Linked DNA regions of Homo sapiens: regions 2 and 3 are each linked to region 1. The links are contacts of gene promoters, found by promoter capture Hi-C in blood cells and fetal thymus (Javierre and others, 2016). All regions are on one chromosome and are shown on one strand. Each heading gives the region's core, a stretch centred on a gene start or on the middle of the fragment in contact. The rest is flanking DNA. Distances are from core to core; before and after follow the strand shown. Region 1 holds the start of VTA1 (vesicle trafficking 1). Region 2 has its middle 250 kb from the start of HIVEP2. Region 3 overlaps HIVEP2 (HIVEP zinc finger 2).

Region 1 (2,700 bases), core at 32-2,531:
TCAATGAACACATACTGAATGAATATGGACCCTGCTTGAGGAAACTGAAGAACAAGTATAATAAAAATGATGCTGTAAAATTTGAACAAAATGAAGTAATGCACAGAGAATAATCAATTTGCTGCCCACAGAAGTGGTGACATTTGGGTTAGATCTTGAATCATGAGTTTGCCAAGTGCAAGAAAAAGGTGCACATTCCAAGAGAGTGGAAGATGGTAGGTCTGAAAAGGCCTTGCACATTTGAGAAACAGGGTACATTTGGAGTATGGCAGAGATAACAGTGACCAGATTTTAGCTAACCTTACAATATACACAACAATGGACGCATTATATCCAACTTCTCAACTCTAAATATCCTTTTCAGAATTATAATTGTCCAGTTACTTGTTTTATTTGCAGTAAAGTTAAGAGTACAGAATACAAAATAAAGTTAACACAGAATTACTGGCACTCCCTTTACTCACTACAAGTTTGAGCAGAGTTAACCTATATTTTTTTTAATCAAACTGTAAATTCAACGTATAACACTCAAAGTGAAAATACTGCTTTCAAAGGTCTCAACAGCGGGTATTATTCAAAGAAGTCAAAACTAAAAATTCTGCATGGTAGGAGAGAGCAGCTGGGTGGGGAAAGGTCAAATTCAACTGCTTATTTAGTAGCAGATACTCCCCATTTAACCAAATGAGTTTCTGATTGGGCTTGCATGCTGTCATAAATAATATTCACTTATTACTATGTTTTCAACTAGTCTATCGTCCTTTTATCCACATCACTCCTTCTTTCGGACACTCACCTTCGTTTTAAACCTAACTCAATTTATTTTCAGGATTCCTATTTGAGACAAGAAGCTCTTGTGTGTACACACACAGAGAAAACCTTGGAAGATTATATTCCACAGTTCAAGAGCCTGTGTAGTCAGTACTGGAGCATTTAAGCACAAGATAGGAGAAGCAGTGGACACCATGGTGTTTTGGGATTCCTACTGCCAGGGGGTGGGAACCCAGGGAGTTCCCTGGGTAGGCTCGAGGTCAAAGCTCAGGTTTAAAGCGAGGGGGGCGGGGCATGCCCCAAGAACCTCAGGGAGGTGTGTGGGCCCTAAAATGCAACTGGGAAAGAAAGGGCGCGGCCACTCGGAAAGACTCACAGTAATAAGCCACCACAGGGTCTCGCTTGTCATGCTCCTGAGCCGTCCTCAGATGATGCTGTATGCTCTTGAACTGTGCGGGGAGCGGGGGCAGCGGTGCAAGCGCGGCCATCTCTACTCCGAACTCACCACTTCCTACTCGCGCTCCACCGGCACTTCCGCTTCCGTCTGGGCGGTAGCGCGCACGAGCGTTCAGAGCAAATGCTGCCCACTCTTCCGTTGCTCAGCGACGTCAAGTCAACTACGGATCCCCAGCTGGGACAACCTCAGGGTGCTTGGCTCTCGGCGGTTAGAACCCACAGAAGACCCGAGCATTTTGGCGCTTATGCCGCGCATGGCGCTAGCGCTCTCTGCTGGTAGGAGGAAGGGTTTTTGTTTTGTTTTGCTTTTTTGTTTGGTTTGTTGTTTGTGGCAAAAGGAAGGATAGAAAAGGAAAAACAAGAAAATAATGTATGTTGACTGGGAGAAAGTATAAAGGCGAGAATTGCCTTTGGCGTCATTCAGGAATTACCACTTCCAGTTAATATGCCACATTAATATTCCATATAGCAGTGTCCTTTAGAAGCCTTTTTGATTTTAGAAACTTTAATTTCAATACTTGCATGAGAGAGAAATAATGTGTTTAAATTGTAAATTAAATTTTTCTATGTTGACATACTGGATAAAATAATCAGATTTCGCGCCAAATTAAGCTAAACATATGAAGCTTAAAGAAGATTGAACTTTTGTTCTCAGCTGGCTAGTACGTATTTTAGTGAATGAATAATCTGTAGATCACCTTTTTTTTTTCTGGAGAGTGATTAACAATTTGTAAAGTATTTTCATATTTATTATCTTGTCTTAATGTAAGATAGGGTGTTTGGGACGTTTTCAACGCTGGTAACTCTTAACCATTGTACAGTAGGCATCACTTTTCCTTCTACCCTCAATGACTTCAATTCTCTTCCTCTCCTCTCCATCCCTTACTTATATCTTTCAGGACTGTACACTTTATTTACTTCCTCCAATAACCTTCTTTATTTTATCTCAGTCCTCAGTTTTGACAATTCATCTTAAAACTAGTTTTCACTGAAATCACACTATCCCCAAGAGCCAAAATCTCCAGCTCGGAAATTCCCCTCTGCCTACTATTTTCTGATCACTCTCTCACCCCCAGAAGAAACCGCTCCATGTCCTCATATTATCCCACTCCACATACGTTGCCTAGACCTATTTGCAAAGTCCATCATCTTATTCTGGGTCGGGCTTTTTTACTCAGCCTGAAACTCAGTTCTGTCTTCTTCCCCAATCTCAGCGGCATATTTCCTACCACTGGAGAATGTATGGTTTCTTTCTCTTTCTCTTACTCCCACTATTTGGACTTTCCAGTCAAAAGTTGCTAGATTGGTAGAGAAATCAATGAAGAAAAGCAGAGTTGGATAACCATAACTGTTTTCTTTCTATACTCACAACTTTTCATTTATTTGTTTCCTATTACTTCTTGATTCTCAACCGCAGCTGCCCTTAAAGATCAACTTTAAAGCCCACTCCAGGCATTCTCACTTAATTGTTCTAGG
Region 2 (2,700 bases), core at 94-2,593, 540 kb before region 1:
TTTCATTTTGAAAGATCACAGAGTGACTACAATATGAAAAGATTGTGTGTAGGCTATCATTTCATGCTTGAGAAACAAATAGATGAAGATCATTTCATGTACCACTGGGCTGGGTGTTTAGAGACAAATGTGTTTCTTACCTGCTAGTGTAGACCAGTGAGCAGCAGGAAAGGATATACATTCCCAGCCATGGGCAATCCTTTATCCGCATGTGTGGCCAAGGATTTTTCATACTGTCTTACATTGGCTGGGAAAGTTGACTTCTGAGTTCCCTGACAAATCTGAGATTCTATGACTTTATTAATCATAACTATTAATAACTACAGGTTATATGTTAATAGTTATAGTGGTTATAATTATTAGTTATAATTATTATTTTGTGCAATAGATTCTCAGAATCTGAAGCACCATAGAGGTTAAAAGAGGTAATAGCCATCTTCCTGTCTATAACAGTCTCCTTTTCAACATCCTGGGAGTTATCAACAGCAACTACAGGTTCTGCTCAAACACCTCCAACAAAATAGAACTCCCTAGGTCCCACAACCATTTTTGCTGTACAGTGTTTTCCTGTCATAAGAAAAATAATTTGCATTCACTGTAATAATTTTAGAAAACAAAACCAAAATGTACAAAATAAAAATTAAAAATATCTGTAATACTATCACTCAGAGATAAACACCATGAACATTCTGATGTATGTGCCCAGGTGTGCGTATGTGTGTGTGTGTGTGTGCATGTGCATGCGTGCACATGCGTGCATGGGTATGCACACCTTTATTCTAAAAGAATTGTACTACTCATGTTTTAGAACCATCTTTTATCCTTTTTCATTAAGTATTTGTCCATAATATCACCTTTAAAAGTTCAATAAGCATATTTCGTTTTTAAATAGCTATAATTATTAGGATTTTTCCTTTTATCAAGCTAAACCTTACCTCTTTATAATCTATATGCCTTGCCCCTTTCTCTGTCCTCCAGAGCCAGATGCAATAAAAAGTCTGATCCCTCTTTTGCAGGACAACCCTTTAAATATGTGAAGACTGCTTTCTGGTCTTCCCACCAGTCTCATTTTTAATTTTTTAACTCCCTTATTGAAGTAAATTGGCATATTTAATGTACAGTTTGATTAATTTTAATATAGGCATACACCTGTGAAACCATCACTAAAATCAAGGCAAGAAACATATTCACCTCCTAAAGTTTCCTTGTGCACCTTTGTGTACCTGTGTGTTTGTATCAGGCAAGAATATATATTTATTGTACATACACACCATGGACTATTATGCAGCCATAGGAAGAAACAAGGTCATGTTTTTTGCAGGGACATGGATGGAGCTGGAATCCATTATCCTCAGCAAACTAACACAAGAACAGAAAACCAAACAAATGCTGCATGTTCTCACTTATATGTGGGAGCTGAACAATGACAACGCATGGGCACAGGGAGGGGAACAACACACACTGGGGCCTGTTGGTGGCAAGGGAGGTGAGGGAGAGCACCAGGATAAATAGCTAATGCATGCAGGGCTTCATACGTAGGTGCTGGGTTGATAGGTGAAGCAAACCACCATGGCACATGTTTACCTATGTAACAAACCTGCAGGTCCTGCACATGTATCTGGAACTTAAAATAAAATAAACATTTTTTAAAAAGAATATTCATTTATTTATTTATTTTTGTAGGAATATTTAATGTGATATACTCTCTTTAACAATTTTTTTTTTTTTGAGATGCAGTCTCACTCTGTCACCCAGGCTGGAGTGCGGTGGCGCAGTCTCGGCTCACTGCGACCTCTGCCTCCCAGTTCAAGCAATTCTCCTGCCTCAGCCTCCCAAGTAGCTGGGATTACAGGCACCTGCCACCACGCTTGGCTAATTTTTTGTATTTGTAGTAGAGATGGGGTTTCACTATGTTGGCCAGGCAGGTCTCTAACTCCTGACCTCAGGTGATCCACCCGCCTGGGCCTCCCGAAGTGCTGGGATTACAGGCCTGAGCCACCGCACCCAGACTCTTTAACAAATTTTTAAGTGCACAGTGCAGTTAACTATAGGCATAGTGTTGTAAAGCAGATCTCTAAAACTCATGCATCTTGCATCATTGAAACTTCATACCCATTGAACAACAGCTCCCAATTTCTGCCTCTACCCAGTCCCTGGCACCACTGTCCAAGTCTTTGCTTCCCTAAGTTTGACTATTTTAGCTACCTCATGTAAGAAAAATCATGCAGGATTTTTTCCTTCTGTAACTGGCTTATTTCACTTAGCATAATGTCCTCCAGGTTCATCTATGCTGTTTCATGTGGAAGGATCTCCACATGGCCGAGTAATATGCCATTGAGTGTATAGACCACATTTTTTATCCATTTATCTGCTGATGGACATGTAGGTTGTTTCCATGTCTTGGTCATTGTGAATAATGCTATAGTGAACATGGTTGTGCACTATCTCTTTGAGATCCTGATTTCAATTTTTTTTTTGGATATAAACTCAGAAGTGGGATTGCTGGATCATATGGTAGTTTTATTCAAAAAAATTTTTTAGAACCTCCACAGTGTTTTACATCATGACTGTACCAACTTACTTACATTCCATCACCTATGTGCAAGGGTTCCCTTTTCTCCACATCCTCACCAAAACTTGTTGTCTTTTGTTTTTATGGTAATAGCCAATCTAACATATGTGAAGTGCTATTTTGCTGTG
Region 3 (2,700 bases), core at 10-2,509, 790 kb before region 1:
ATGCCTGTGTAATGTGAAGCAAAAGCGAAGGGTATAGCAGGAGTGGGGGTGGGAGGGACGCAAGATCTAGTCCTGTCTTTGCAATTAACTTTCTGTGAAAACTTGGAAACAAGTCATCGAAGCTCTTTGGACCTCATTTGGAAATGGAAGAGATTGGAACAGATGGCTCCTAAAGCTTCTTCCAGCTCATATTCTATCAGTTTATAAATTCTACTTTGTAGTTGTAGAGAATGCAATGTCATTATATTCTGTAATTATGGTATTACAAGGATGAACTAAACACTTAAAAAAATCAGCACAGTGCCAATTTAGCAAATCCGTTAGAAGGAAGGCAATTTAGGCTTAAAGAGCACTCACCTGTGCCAGGCTCCATCCCAGGCTCTCTCTCCACATTACGTCACTTAGCCCTCACAACCAACCTGAGAAGATTTAGTTTTTTATCTTGATGTGTATACTTAAAGAAACTTCCATTCGGAAAGGTTTTTGTGGGGATGCTTTGCTAGTCATTGGTGAAGCAGGATTCCAACTCAGGGTTCTTTGGCTCCGAAAATGCTTTGTCTTTTTACCATTTCACGCAGTATAAGCAATTGTTTACACATCAAAATTATTTCAAATATTTAAAAAAGGCCAACCATATTTATCACTTAGCACAATGTTTCCCCTTAGTAGTATATGGATAAACAGGTAGCCCACGGGATTAAGAACCTCGATTTGAAGTCAGACAGAATAGGGCAAATTCCAGCTCCACCACCACCTGGGGGAATTTGGGTATGTTACTTAACCTCCCTGAGGTTACAAAATGAGGATAATACCCATTCAAGAGTCATTGGGAAATTTTTATGAGAATGTTTGTACCCATCTCAATGAGCACATAGTAAACGTTTAATACCTGGTAGCTATGGGTTATTATTAACAAGGTATTAGACTATAAGAAAAACATAGGACAATTCAAATTGTTGTGACAGTAAAATATTAAATATTTTCAAATGGTCCATTAAACTCTTGACTGAAATGGTTTAAGAAACAATGTTAGAATGACATGGTTTCACATTTAACAGTTAACAAATGGAAATATCAATTAAAATCTGGGGTGTTTCTCACTGAGCTCAGCCAGTGCTATGCCAATGAAGTGAACTAAATTCTCTGGTTCTTTGTGGAAAATCATTCTGAAGTTTTTGCTCTAAAAATAGCTTTTGGGGCCTGAATTACCCCTTACCCCACTCGAACTTCTGTGCAAGAGCCAGAGGACCAGTGATTACTCGTGGGGCCTTGGGCCTACTTAAGAGACTCAACTTGGGTGTTCACAGGACTGTTGACTTTAATTCTAAAAAAATTTATTAATTCAACAGAGATTTATTAAGCACCTGCTCTGGGAAAGGGCTGTTCTAGACACTGGAGATCCATCAATAGACAAAAATAGTAAAAAAAAAAAAAAAAATTCCTTGCCTTCATGGAGTTTACATTCTAGTAGACTAATTTAGAAACTTTTTATGGCTAATTCAGTCACTGCATTACTTTTCAGTGTTTACAGGATCTCTGCTTTTATAGTGGTCTCTCTTAACCCAAATAACAAAGAAACATCGTAAGACTTATTAAATCACTAATGAAATACCCCATTTATTTTATATATATGTGTATGTGTGTATGTACATATATTTCATAGTAAGGTAGTTTTTGACACCTAAATATTATAGCACTAGATTTTTTAAAAATTCATTTTTATGGTTCAGCATTATGGCCCTTCATACCTGTAGAATTAGTAGAATTAGGTGCTGGTGGTCGGGCGGTGGCTCACGGCTGTAATCCCAGCATTTTGGGACGCTGAGGTGGGTGGATCACAAGGTCAGGAGTTCGAGATCAGCATGGCCAATATGATGAAACCCCATCTCTACTAAAATTCAAAAATTAGCCTGGTGTGGTGGCACGTGCCTGTAGTCCCAGCTACTTGGGAGGCAGAGACAGGAGAATCGCCTGAACCCGGGACGTAGAGGTTGCAGTGAGCCGAGATCGCCCCACCGCACTCCAGCCTGTCTGACAGAGTGAGACTCCATCTCAAAAAAAAAGAGAGAGAGAGAGAGAATTAAGTGCTGGCTGTTTTATTATGGGCAAGAAAAAAATGGTTTACAAATGACACATCCTTTTTTTTTCTTCTTGAGACAAGTTCTCGGTCTGTCACCCAGGCTGGAGTGCAGTGGCGCGATCACGGTTCACTGCAACCTCGACCTCCTGGGCTCAAATGATCTCCCGCCTCAGTCCCCTGAGTAGCTGGGACTGCAGGCTGGCACCACCATGCGCGGCTAATTTTTGTGACACATCCTATTGTTAAATGCATTTATAAGCTTGCCAAAGTGAAGTAGTTAAATTATATTCAGAGTTTATATTTTTAATCTTGTTTAAGTGAATTATTCATCTTTTAACTGATAATTTTTGCTATAAAATTTCTAGTGGATTAGGATGGTTTCACTTTCACAAAAGTGTGCTCAATACAGTGTATGACATGTGCTGGGCATACAGTTGATATTTGGTGGATGTTTAAAGTCATAATTCTCAAGAAGCTTACGGTCCAAATGGTAAGGAAAAACACCTGCCACACTATAAGATGGGGGCCATGAGAACCAGATGAAGGAGATCCTCCAGGAGCTCAAGTCCTGTCTAGTCTTTGTGCCAATAGCCAGAGTTCATCAGTCTGTGCACCTTTAC

The links. Contacts are between HindIII fragments. The CHiCAGO score rates a contact against its expected background, and 5 or more counts as called.
Region 2: a contact is called between a fragment that was not itself captured here and the fragment with the promoter of VTA1 in region 1, in 1 of 17 cell types (fetal thymus). The highest score is 5.8, in fetal thymus.
Region 3: a contact is called between a fragment that was not itself captured here and the fragment with the promoter of VTA1 in region 1, in 1 of 17 cell types (fetal thymus). The highest score is 5.1, in fetal thymus.

The regions. Positions count from the first base shown.
Region 1 is chr6:142,145,844-142,148,543 of GRCh38, reverse strand. It overlaps VTA1 (vesicle trafficking 1), which reads right to left and starts at 1,281. Exons shown (of 8, transcript NM_016485.5): 1 at 1,145-1,281. The coding sequence starts at 1,256. It overlaps NMBR (neuromedin B receptor), which reads left to right and starts at 1,422. Exons shown (of 4, transcript NM_002511.4): 1 at 1,422-1,500. RefSeq lists enhancers at 580-1,100, 1,355-1,494, 1,258-1,552. The HindIII fragment of the contact is 1,973 bases long and covers 1-1,852 here.
Region 2 is chr6:142,689,158-142,691,857 of GRCh38, reverse strand. No RefSeq gene overlaps it. Among named protein-coding and RNA genes, the nearest start is that of HIVEP2, 250 kb to the left of the region's middle. The HindIII fragment of the contact is 3,484 bases long and covers 1-2,700 here.
Region 3 is chr6:142,935,565-142,938,264 of GRCh38, reverse strand. All of the region lies in intron 1 of HIVEP2 (HIVEP zinc finger 2), which reads left to right. Among named protein-coding and RNA genes, the nearest start is that of HIVEP2, 8.3 kb to the left of the region's middle. The HindIII fragment of the contact is 2,164 bases long and covers 178-2,341 here.